3 separate regions of the Homo sapiens genome follow, and regions 1 and 3 are each linked to region 2. Evidence: promoter capture Hi-C in human tissues and cell types (Jung and others, 2019). All regions are on one chromosome and are shown on one strand. Each heading gives the region's core, a stretch centred on a gene start or on the middle of the fragment in contact. The rest is flanking DNA. Distances are from core to core; before and after follow the strand shown.

Region 1 (4,409 bases), core at 1,027-3,526, 310 kb before region 2:
GTGTGCTACCAAATCCTGTGTTCCTTGTCTTGGGAGAATGGCGACACCTCTCACTCTGTCTCCAAATCCACAGACCTGAGAATCAAACTTGACTCCTTTGTTCCTCATTCTGCCGCTACATCTGGTCAGTCAGCAAATCCTGACATTTCTGCCTCCTGAGTCTCTGGAATCTTCCTCTGCCCTTCATTCTCACTTCCAACGTAGCAGCTCCTAACTGCTTCCCCCTTGGTCCATCTTCTATTCTGTGAAGAGAGGGAGCTTCCTTTTCTCTTTGAAAGGAAGTTACTTACTTTCTGATTACAGAAGTAATGCAAACCTTGCAAGCATTTGGGAAACACAGAATAGTATTTAGATGTAATGGAAATACTACCACAATCCCAAACTACTGTAAATTACATGCACGTGTACACACCTGCACACTCCCAGCCTTCTTTCTAGGTAAGCCTGTGTATATGTGTGTGCACAGATAGACTTATCCAATTTCAAATGTATTGTGATCAGACTCTATGTGGTTTTATTTTGCTTTTACAATTCAACTTGGCATAAACATTTTCCTATGTTATTAAGACTTCTTCCAAAATGTATTGATGACTCCATAAAATACACCAAATATATGCACTATAGTTTATTTAACCTGTTCCCGAGTGTCTGTGAGTATATCACTGTATTTGATTTTTCATGTTATAGATAACTCTGTGATGAACGTCTTGTACAGGTATTTTGACATGTCTGTTTATTTTTGGGGGGTAAATTCTTAGAAGAATGATTGGTCAAGTGTATGAATACTTGAAAGGCTTTTGATGTTTTGCCAAATTACCCTCTGGGAGTGTGTGCTTATTTACAACAGGCTGGCAGGGTACACAAATTTCCTTCTTCCCACACTCTGGCCCCCATTACATTCTGAGCTTTGAAGCATGATTTCAAATTACATTCACGTAAAAAACTAGACGCCAGGCTCAGTGGCTCATGCCTGTAATCCCAGCATTTTGGGAGGTCAAAGCAGGAGGATCGCTTGAGCCCAGGAGTTCAAGACTAGCCTGGGCAGCATAGTGAGATCCTGTCTCTAAAAAAATTAAATGAAATTAAAAAATTAAAACCTAGAAAATGAAGAAAATCATAAAGAGCAATGTTAAAAATACAGCAGCTTCACCCAGAGAACAATTGTTGACATTTTAGTATATATTATTTCTGTTCTTTTGTGAGTGTATGTATCTATGCTTGTGGGTGCATATCTGTATGTGTGGATATATGTGTGTGTATACACACATATACATAGACTTTTTTGAAGTATTTAGGTTGAACCATAAGAAATTGGTATTTTTAGGCAAAAAATTATTGAATAGAGGCAATTTCACATGAGTCAGGCTAATATATTTACATAATTGAAATCAAATTGTATGTACAGTTTTATCCTAATGTTTCTTCATGTAGTAATTTATAAGGAACATTTTCAGTGTCCATAAATATCATTGGCTATATGATTTCTGATGAGTGTATCTCACCCCGTCATAGGAATGTGTCATCATTTGTTTAACCAAATAACTATTGTTGGATAGTTAGGGGATTTCCAGCTTTCTGTTGCATTTTTGAAAGTTTATAAGGTTATTAAAATGAGAATAATGCAAAGAATATCCTTGTAGATATCTTTTTGGCACATCTCTGAATATTTCTAGAAAGAGAACAAGATGAAGGTTAGGAATGTTGCCTCCTTTAGAAAGGGTGTGGAATTATCCTTAAAAATAAACCAACATGCAAACCAATAGATAACTTTATCAGTTTGGCAAAACAACATTGGTCATGCAAAATGGTTTTCTCATCGTTTTGATTTGAATTCATCTCATCACGAATAAGATTGAGTATCTTCCACTTTTCAACCTTCTGTAGATGTTCTTGGTATGTGAAGGCGATTAGTCCTTTTCAATCATGTTAGTTGCATGTTATCTTCCTAGTACATGGCCTTCTTTATAATTTTGTTTTTAACACAAAGAAGTTTTTTGTTTGCTTGTAGGCAAATCTCCTTTTCCCGTATAATTTCTTTTGCTTTTATGCTTCGAGACTTCTTCCTTATCCTGTGATAGGTTAAATATCCACATTAATTTTCTTCTAATTTTTACTTAACTTTTTTTTTTTTTTCCCCTTGAGACAGAGTCTCACTCTGTCACCCAGGCTGGAGTACCATGGCGCAATCTTGGTTCACTGCAACCTCCACCGCCTAGGTTCAAGCGATTCTTCTGCCTCAGCCTCCCAAGTAGCTGGGATTATAGGCACATGTCACCATGCTCAGCTGATTTTTGTATTTTTAGTAGAGACGGGGTTTCATTATGTTGGCCAGCCTGGTCTTGAACTCCTGGCCTCAAGTGATTCGCCTGCCTTGGCCTCCCAAAGTGCTGGGATTATAGGCCTGAGCCACCATGTTAACTCTTTACAATCATCAGGAGGCCCTATCTAATTTTTTTTCCTCCCAATCCTTGATGTTCCTGGTACCATTTGTTACATAACCATTCCCTTTCCCATTGCGTTGTAACCCAGGGCCACTGATTGGCACAGCGTGGGGCACCACTCTCCTTGTGCCCAGCCCTGCGCTCCAGCGGGTGCTGTCTCATAGAGGACACACGGTGCCCTCTCCTTCACCTGCAACTCTTGGCAATTTGGCCCTAGCCAGATTTTGAATGTTTGAGAGCAGGAGCTATGAGTAAAGGAATAAGTGAATAAATAAATTGAGCAGGGATCTGCTCATTTGGCCACAAAAAGTGCTGTTAGAGGGAGTAGTGTCCATTGTCAGTGCCCAGCACTGAGTAGGCACCTTACAAATGTAGACATCCTTCCCTTTTTGACACGGGGAAACCTAAAGCTAAATGTAACATTCAGTTGCAGTAATTCCAGGAATCATTACACCCTCTGCACCCAGTTTCCTTTTTATTAGCTTTTACTTATTTCTCTTTTGATGATCTTATTGGATATGTGCAATTTAAGATAAAATGCCCCCCAGATTTCCTTGGAAGTAGACATGCTATAAGAATCTAGTGAAGAATAATAAATTGTGGTAATATGTGTTGTGCTATTTTTTCAACTATTAAAACAATTTAAAAACAAGAAAAAATGAGCCTCAGTTCTTCATTTTGTAGAGCGATAGTACAAAAAATTTTAAATATTTTGATTTATTTAAAAATTTTTCTGATTATAGGCTGGCTTTTTCCCCTAAAATTTCATAACTGGATATTTAGTTTTGTGGTCTTAAAATAATTTCTTTGATGCCACCGTGGTGGTTCATCTGTAGTACATTCGAATTATCAAAGCACCCAGACCTTCATAGGCTCTCTTGCCTTTAGGAAGCTCCCCAGGACAACCTGGCATCATCACCTTCTGTGCCTCCATCCACGGGCATTTGGCAATCCGTGCAGAGGGTTTTTAATGTGGTTCCTGGACCCACGCTCCAGGATCAGCTGCAAACTGATTCAAATTCAACCTTCCTGGCCTCACACACACAGGTTCTAATTTGGTGGGGCCAGATGGGGTTCAAGAGTGAATGTTTGGCTAAGGGCGGTGGCTCATGCCTGTAATCCCAGCACTTTGGGAGGATGAGGTGGGAGGATCGTTTGAGGCCAGGAGTTTGAGGCCAGCCTGGTCAACATGGTGAAACGCTGTCTCTAATAAAAATACAAAAATTAGCTGGACATGGTGACACACGCTTGTAATCCCAGCTGCTCGGGGGGTTGAGGCAGGAGAATCGCTTGAACCTGGGAGGCGGAGGTTGCAGTGAGCCAAGATCATGCCACTGCATCCAGCCTGGGCAGCAACTGAGACTCCATCTCAAAAGAAAAAAAAAAAAGTGACTGTTTAACAGTTCCCCAAGTAACTTTTTTAATGTACTTTAAGTAAAGTAACAAAATTAGTAAACAATTATGATAGAACTTTTTTAGATCACTAATAACTAGAAAACAAGCTGAAAATTCATCTCTCCTCTTTTGGCATCTGCTAAGCGTATAGAAATGATGCCCTCTTCTGGCTCCTCCCTGTAAATGCACCTCTTTTACTTTTTTTCTTTTTTTTAACAACCATGACATTCTGTTACTTGATGTACAAGCTTAAAAGCAGAAAGATGACAATATTAATATTAAACTTTTTTTTTTCTTTTTTGAGACGGAGTCTCGCTCTGTCGCCCAGGCTGGAGTGCAGTGATGTGATCTCGGCTCTCTGCAAGCTCCGCCTCCCGGGTTCACGCCATTCTCCTGCCTCAGCCTCCTGAGTAGCTGGGACTACGGGCACCTGTCACCACGCCTGGCTAATTTTTTGTATTTTTAGTAGAGACGGGGTTTCACCGTGTTAGCCAAGATGGTCACGATCTCCTGACCTCGTGATCGGCCCGCCTCGGCCTCCCAAAGTGCTGGGATTACAGGCGTGAGCCACCG
Region 2 (4,368 bases), core at 1,552-4,051:
ACCTGGGATTACAGGTACATGCCACCATGCCCGGCTACTCTCCTGAACACTTAAAAAATATTTTATTCATAAGGATATCAGAGGAGAATATTATCCTTATCCATAAGCAAATTATGGATAAAATATCAGTATTTTATCCATTAGGATATCAATGATTATGATTTGTAAGATAATACTTCCTCAAAATTGAGATTTTTCTGTCTTGTGCATTACTCAGATATACTAATAAACTAATCAATAGATTACTTCAATATACTAATCAACTATCAAAAAAGTTGTTCCTAATGAACCACCATTGATTCTTGTTTCTAATCTGTTGGTCTGATTGGATAGTAATGATTTGTAAGCAACCACTTAAAGGCACCAGAAAGTGTTTTTGGAAGGATTAGAAAATTTTAAAATTGAATCCTTTTCTAATATAAATGATCACTCTTCAAATTTAAATTTTCTATTTTAGTTTTCTTACAGTGATAGACATCTCTTATAGAAAAAGAATTTGTTAGAACAAGATAATTATGAATTTAGAAAGAGCGTTTGAAATAAGCATCAATAATTACATTGTTGATGTTCAATCATCAGTTTGACAATTCGTATTAAGTGCTTACTATGTACCAGGCATTGTACTAGGTGAACAAAAGATGCAAAAGTTCCTGCATCCATGGAGCTTGCATTCCTATAAAGTTCTGCTGAATTCAACATTTGAGGCTTATGGAAAGAACTTTAGAGAACCGTTTAACTTTAAGAGAACTTTAAGAGTTTATGTTTTTTTTGCTGGGTGTGGTGGCTCAGGCCTGTAATCCCAGCATTTTGGGAGGCCGAGGCGGGCGGATCATGAGGTCAGGAGATCGAGAGTATCCTGGCTAACATGGTGAAACCCCGTCTCTACTAAAAAAATACAAAAAAAAAAAAAAAAAAAAAAAGAGCCGGGCGTGGTGGCGGGCGCCTGTAGTCCCAGCTACTTGGGAGGCTGAGGCAGGAGAATGGCGTGAACCCGGGAGGTGGAGGTTGCAGTGAGCCGAGATTGTGCCACTGCACTCCAGCCTGGGCGACAGAGCGAGACTCCGTCTCAAAAAAAAAAAAAGAAAAAAAAAAAGGCTTATGTTTTGTTTTTTTTCTTTCCTATGTATGTTTGAATATTTGCAACTGTTCATGGATGTAAAAACACAAACTGCCGTCCGGGCGCGGTGGCTCACGCTTGTAATCCCAGCACTTTGGGAGGCCGAGGCGGGCGGATCACTTGAGGCCAAGAGTTTGAGACCAGCCTGGCCAACGTGGCAAAACCCTGTCTCTACTAAAAATACAAAGATTAGCCGGGGGTGGTGGAGGGCGCCTCTAGTCCCAGCTACTTGGGAGGCTGAGGCAGGAGAATCGTTTGATCGGGGAGGAGTGGGGGAGGGGGGCGGAGGTTGCAGTGAGCGGAGATCGCGTCATTGCAGTCCAGCCTGGGCGACAAGAGCGAAACTCCGTCTCAAAACAACAACAGCAACCACCACCACCACCACCACCACCACCACAAAAAACCAATCTGTGGTCCTGCATGGAAGAATAATCTTACTCCTGCTCAAAGCCTGCCGAAGAGATTTACTCGGCTCCCATTTTGGATATGCTACTGTTGGATATCTTTGCACCGCGGTCTCCTCATCTGCATAATGGAGTTATAAAATCAACTTCACAGCACTGTGGATTAACTAAGAAAACGTATTTGAATGCCCCCCGTAAGGTGCTCAGCACGTAGTTGGCCCTCAATACACACTGGTACAATTCAAACTTTGTGAAATGAGCCAATTCGTGTACATGTTAAGGACCACGGCAGCAACTCATATCACTAAAAGTTAACTGATGCCCAACCCATGCCCCTTCCTGCTTCACTCCTCCACACCACGGGAGATTCCTTAGGGCAGAACTTTTATTTCGGCAGAGTGCAGCCAAGGGAAGACAGCATAAGCAGCTTTTTTGCCAGGGCGAAGGGGCCAGACCCCGGCCTGGGGATGGGGTGCAAGTATGGACCACACAGGGGCTGGCTTGGTCACTCACGGCTGCGTCAGGCTGTCCCGGTAACGGCTGCGCTGGCAGGGCAGTGCTCGGGGCCGGCTGGTGTAGGTGTAGGTGCTCGGGGCCCGAGAGGTGCGATCAGTCAGCGCTGAGGCCATGTCCGGGGGCTGACTGCCTCGCTTTCGGTGGAGCTTGGCTTTGAAGCAGGTGGGCGCTAAGGTGTTGTGGGACCCGGAGAGATGTAAGTAGTGCCAAGGGCAAGGATTCCGCGACGCGAGGAGAGGCGACAACAAGGGAGGCGGGCGGGACGGGAGGTTACCAGCGCAGGAGGTGGGAGCTATACTGGGCTCGCTCCCAGCACCACAGAGACCAGCTGCGGGGGCCGCATCGGTTGCCCAGCAACCCAGGGTTCTGTCTGGGGGCGGGAACTCCGGGCAGTTCCGGTCCCCAGGTTTCCCGGGAAGGACTGCGGCACAAGGGACTTCCGGCTCTTGACTCCGCCCAGCCGCGCCACCCAGGTAGGTGCGCCTGCGCTTTGCGAGGTTCCTGGCTAGGGAGGCGGCCTTGGCTGGCTTGACCGTCATCCTTGAGGCCTGCGGGGCAACGGTGGCTGTCCTTGGCCCGGCTTTGGAATGTGGCTTTGCAGGGCTGGTGTTGGCGCCATTCTCGCAGGCCCACGTGCTCCTGCTCTTCCAGGGTGTCCTCGGCTGTTTCTCCTGCCGCGGCGCAGCAGCGCTCCCAGGCTGCCCCCGCGATAACACGCCCCTGGCAGCCAGGCTCCCAGCTCTGTTACGTGCCCGGGCGGGGAAGAGCTTCCTGGTGTCTCCCGGCTCCTGCCCTTCTCCCGCCCCAGGGGCGGGCTGCCGCCGCCCTCTGCAGCTGAGTCAGTGCAGTTCCTCACCTACCTTCTCTGCTCACCGCTGTGTGCTAGCAATCGGAGGACCCTTGGCACACGGAGCGACAGGGGCCTCCCCCACAGACACCTCATTTTGGGAAAGAAGTGAGCAATTTATTGAGTCTTAAAAAATACAAAGGCATAGTTCCCCTTAATCTATCAGGCTTCCAGCTCTAAAGAATGTCTCTAGTATTGCGGGGTGGGGCTGCGCTTAAAAACGCAGACGCTTTGGTTTTAGTACCAGCAACGTTAAAAATCTTCTATCTTGTATGAGTGAATGTGTATCCCTTGTGATCAGTTATTTGCATTTGCAGTTACACCTTCATTCAGCTAATTGCTGTCTTGATTTGAATCCAGGTTCTAGAATGTACTAGCTCCGAAACCTCAGGCAAGTTAAATGTTTTTGTGCTTCATTTTCCTAATCCACAAAGTGGCAATAGAAGAATTTATCTCTTTAGGTTTTGTCTTGAGGATTAAAACCGTTAATACTTAGAGCTGTGCCTGGTAAATGGCAAGCCTTTATATTAAGATCTGGACCGTTCTGTGCTTTGAAGTGTATGACCTAAAGCAGATGTAGGCATTCTATAAGTAACACTAGCATAAAGGTGTATGGTAAATTCTAGAGGTGAAAACACTCCCAACATATTTTAGGTCTGATCATTTAATTTTGAGGTAATTTCTGAAAGGGCTAGAGGAGAAAGTGACATTTAAGTTGTGTTTGATAAATGATAGTATTTTAACTGGCCAGCCTCTTGGGGGAAGTGCATTCGGAATGGCTTGATCAAAGGCTCAAGAAGCCCAAGGTGCATTTGGAAAACTGTAAGCAAGGTTTGTGTAGATGAGTTGTAGAAATATATATAGACAGGCTGACACCACATCGTGGAAACAGTAAACACTAGCATATTAATTAGAATATTTTTTCCCTCAAGTAACAAAAAACCAATTCCAAGTGGCTGAAATAATAAGGAATTCATTATTTTACACTCCCCAGGTTGGTTAACCTGGAGGGTAACTTGGGGGCTCAGCACATTATCAACAACACGTTTTTTCCCCTACCTTTCCACTCTGTCACCTGGGTTGTTGGCTTCAACAAAGTAGTAATAGAAGTATCTGCTCTTTTGTCTTTATTGGAAGAGCAAAACCCCCTCGTAAACTCCCAACTGACCAGAATTACATCATATTGATTTAAGCTTAGGATCTATATAAGACCACCATATTTGGATTAGACCAGGTAACCGGTCTTTCTAGGCCTCCAAGAAACACTTGGCCAGGGAGGAGGAGAACAAATTCTGTTAGGAGGATGTTGGGGCAGAATTGAGTGGGTATTAAGTGGGTAAACAATAGTGCTATACCAGCCACAGTGGGCTTTATAAAGAAATTGATAGCCACTATAGGTTCTTGTACAAGTTTCTTTCTTTTTTTTTTTTTTTAGATGGAGTCTCGCTCTGTGGCCAGGCTGGAGTGCAGTGGCGCGATCTTGG
Region 3 (3,967 bases), core at 1,225-3,724, 450 kb before region 2:
ATTTTAGCATTGGGCCATAAGAGCAGAGTTAGAACTGAAGGGAAAAGTTACAGGAGCTGATAAAAAGGTTGAAGGAGAGAGTTATCGTCTCAGCCTTATCAGGGAAGAAAGAGCTGTAGGCAGTTATGTGTGACCTGCCAGTCATGGGCTGTGAGATGGAAACAAAGTTGAGCTTCTGAGAGATGAACCTGAGAAGCTTTAAAATGAAAACTCTACCTCAAGAAGTGAAATTACCATTCGGAATGAAAAAACATTTCTGTCTTGAAACTAGAGAAATTAAGTGGCTTTCAGGAAAAAATGTGGCAGAAATAGAAACTGTCAGCCAGGCACAGGGGCTCATGCCTGTCATCCCAGCACTTTCGGAGGCTGATGCGGGAGGATCACTTGAGCCTAGTTTGAGACCAGCCTGGGCAACATGGTGAGACCCCAGTCCTGCAAAACAATTAAAAAATTAGCCGGGTGTGGTGGTGTGTGCCTGTGGTTCCAGTTACATGGGTGGCTGAGGCAGGAGGATTGTTTGAGCCTGAGAGGTCGAAGCTGCTATGAGTTGTGATTGTGCCATTGCACTCCAGCCTGGGCGACAGAGAGGGGTCCCTGTCTCCGAAAAAAAAAAAAATTGGGAAATGAACCAGACATTTAATGAATATCTGTTGTTTAATTTAACATACCATAAAACTTTAAGATTTTAAATTACATAAAAAGCTTATTTATAAACACATATACCATTTACATTTACAAAATTTATTTATTTTTAACAATTATACCTAGATTACTTATTAAAACTGAGATATTAGACAAAGCTAGTCATCAGTTATTTCTCTGTTAACCATTTTTATAGCCTGTGCATATCAGGTGTTCACCTAAGAACCTTAAATATATGGTTATTTTGTCAATAACTCAGAAGATACAGCTATTTTTATTAAACCAACAATATTAAATTAGTCTTACTTATCAAAGAGTTGTACAAAAAATCATTTTATTTTAGGCTGTGTTTATAGTTTTATAATCTTTGTGCTAAACCCTAATACCTTAAAACATCTAATGAAGACCAATATAAAACTGTCTGCCACAAAACCCATGCAACAGTATATTAATATGTTGGCAATTGTGCAGACATTTTTATTTTTTTCAACAATTTAAAAGCTAGTTTATTTATTAAAGACATTCTTAAGTCACATGAACTAAAACGCATTCGGGTTAATTAATATAGAGAGCAAGTTGGCACTTAATGTCATTAGTAGGTTCTTGGAAACTGTGACTGGGTGAAACAACGTCCAACAGGTCCTCAAATGATGTCACTTTGTTCAATGCTGTTTCATTATTTTTATTTTTTTTTTGAGACGGAGTTTTGCTCTGTTGCCCAGGCTGGAGCGTAATGGCACCATCTCAGCTCGCCAGAACCCCCACCTCCCGGGTTAAAGTGATTCTCCTGCCTCATCCTCCCGAGTAGCTGGGATTACAGGTGCCAGCCACCACGCCTGGCTAATTTTTTTATTTTATTTTATTTTATTTTTTGAGATGGAGTTTCGCTTTTGTTGCCCAGGCTGGAGTACAATGGCCCGGTCTTGGCTCACTGCAACCTCCACCTCCCAGGTTCAAGTGATTCTCCTGCCTCAGCCTCCCGAGCAGCTGGGATTACAGGCGCCTGCCACCACGCCCGGCTAATTTTTGTATTTTTAGTAGAGACGAGGTTTCACCATGTCGGTCAGGCTGATCTCGAACTCTTGACCTCAGGCAGTCCGCTCACCTTGGCCTCCCAAAGTGCTGGGATTACAGGCGTGAGCCACCGCGCCTGGCCATTTTTGTAGTTTTAGTAGAGATGGGATTTTGCCATGTTGGCCAGGCTGGTCTCGAACTCCTGACCGCAGGTGATCCACCTGCCTCAGCCTCCCAAAGTGCTAGGATTATAGGCGTGAGCCACTTCGCCTGGCCAATGCTGTTTCATTTTAACATTGATGAGGAAAAAAATTGGCTTCATTATACATTGTTTTGCTCAAAGTCACAGTTTCCAACAACCTATTCACAACATTAAGTCAGGACTTACTATATTTTATATGAAAGCTCATTTAAACCAATCTGAATAGAATTTAAGGGTCCATGCTAGATCTTACCATGAAGACACAACATAAAACATAATACACGTACATGTGTAAATGCACCGAAACAAATATCCACACACAGAAATATCTTACAGCTTTCATTTTAGAATGTTAGTCATGAGACAGTAAAAGATAATAAAACACAGCTGGATCCAAATTGTATTATTGACAAAGTTGAAACCTGTTCACATGTCTGAACTTTATTTGCCCCGATAGGTAATCTAATGAAGATGGTGGGCGAAGATTTTGGACAAAGCAGTTTGGTTTTTAAAAATCTCTTTTACTCCCACTCTTTTGCTTTTTTCAGCTTTAAATGAGTTTAGGGTTACATTTTCAATGTTTACATTTTAGCTAGGACTGGCTGAATTATATAAGGAAAACAAACTCTCCAAAGAGCCTTGAACTAGTAACAAATGTATCTTTTGTTTGCCCATCTGGTTTGCTTGGTTAATGTGAACAGGGAAGAATGTTAGCAGGGTTTCCTTCCTGTGTTTGTTTGGCTTTTTCTTTTTGGCCCCTGTGTGGCAGAAAAAGCAATTTTATGCCAGACAGAGACACCTTATATTATTGCTCTGAGCTCAAGATTTTGACTTGTTTGATCTGTGAGCCTTTTATGAAGATTTATCTAATTTTTTCTTTATCAATCCTTCAACTAACTTCCATTACCCCAAACAATTATTAGTCAGGCAAAACTAAATTAACCTTAAAAGAGATGATCCTTAGGCCTAGGTTGTTGGTTTTGGTTTAAAAAATCTTGGCTGGAATGCCATAAGCAGTGAGTTTTATCTCAACTCCAGTAGAAAAGTCAGCAGATTTAAAGTAAGCAGAAAAAAATAGAGATAGAGAATTTAGAAGACTCTACATGCTAACTGTATAGTTTCAGAGGTGTTTTTAGAGAATTCAGATAATGATCATTTGAGTTCTGAATGTTTCATGATGTAATTTGTCTATTAGCTTAAAAATGTGCGTGAAAAGAAGCCATAATATACAGCTAGCTGGAGTCCCAGAAGACTTGAGAGAATCCCATTGACTTGACTTGAGAATCCCATTCTGCTTTTTATTAATCTCTCAGGAGCAAAGGAAACCCTATAAATTCTGTCAGCGAATGTCAGGAGTTTGGACAATGTTTAGATGGCGGCTTTTAACTAGCCATCGTGCGCCCACCGTTTAGAATGTTTTTCTCTTGGAAGATTTTTCAGAAACAAGCAAGGGAAAAAAGACGAATCATTTATAGACACATAACTAAACCAAAATCAGTGTAGTCACAAGCTTTAACTCAGCATGCAGATCAAACAAAATATTAAATTAGACATGCAGAAAGAAGCAAAAGTAAATTAACCAGAAAAGACACGTCTCAGAGACAGAATGTCAATTCTGCAGAAACCAGAGTACTCAAACCAGCATGTCTTTCTACCAACAAGGACTTTTCAGAAAAGACAAAAAAGTCTTTTATCATCCCAGTAGGGATGTAAGGCAGCCTTATAACCAAAACGAATCCAGAATAATATGAAAAAGCTGCTACCAAAAAGAGGGAGCGTGGGCCTGAGAGAAGAGTCGCCTTGGCCAAAAAGGCAAGCTGTGCCAGCAGAGTTCAGAGGGCTCAAGTGAGTACCACACACCCGTTCTAAGAATCATCACTTCCTTCCCGTAGTGATCCTTTTCCCGATTCCATTTCTGACACATTTGCGTCAACCTAAATAACAAACAAAGAGGCTCTCTAAAAGAAATGATATTTATCCAGGAATAGGGCATTGCAATGGGAATATATGTGCCATAGTGAACTATGTGCCTTTTCAGGGAGGTATAGAAAGATGAAGGTTTTTAAAGGAACAATGGGGAGGATTACATAATTGTTTTGAGTTAATTAT

The links. The method cuts DNA at HindIII sites, captures the fragments that hold promoters and counts their contacts. A contact is called where the count stands out against the background at its distance.
Region 1: a contact is called between a fragment that was not itself captured here and the fragment with the promoter of RSPH3 in region 2, in 2 of the 25 tissues and cell types used here (H1 embryonic stem cells and dorsolateral prefrontal cortex).
Region 3: a fragment that was not itself captured here is called in contact with the fragment with the promoter of RSPH3 in region 2 in 1 of the 25 tissues and cell types used here (spleen).

What each region holds. Positions count from the first base shown.
Region 1 is chr6:158,687,533-158,691,941 of GRCh38, forward strand. The region is part of intron 6 of SYTL3 (synaptotagmin like 3); the gene reads left to right. Among named protein-coding and RNA genes, the nearest start is that of SYTL3, 40 kb to the left of the region's middle. The HindIII fragment of the contact is 5,101 bases long and covers 1-4,409 here.
Region 2 is chr6:158,997,401-159,001,768 of GRCh38, forward strand. RSPH3 (radial spoke head 3) reads right to left here and starts at 2,802. Exons shown (of 8, transcript NM_031924.8): 1 at 2,035-2,802. The coding sequence starts at 2,150. It overlaps TAGAP-AS1 (TAGAP antisense RNA 1), which reads left to right and starts at 2,473. Exons shown (of 5, transcript NR_183546.1): 1 at 2,473-2,992. RefSeq lists enhancers at 1,545-2,516, 2,001-2,150, 2,171-2,220, 2,251-2,320, 2,491-2,650 and 2 more. The HindIII fragment of the contact is 9,808 bases long and covers 1-4,368 here.
Region 3 is chr6:158,552,588-158,556,554 of GRCh38, forward strand. It overlaps a transcript of TMEM181 not described here. Among named protein-coding and RNA genes, the nearest start is that of TMEM181, 5.5 kb to the right of the region's middle. The HindIII fragment of the contact is 5,216 bases long and covers 1-3,967 here.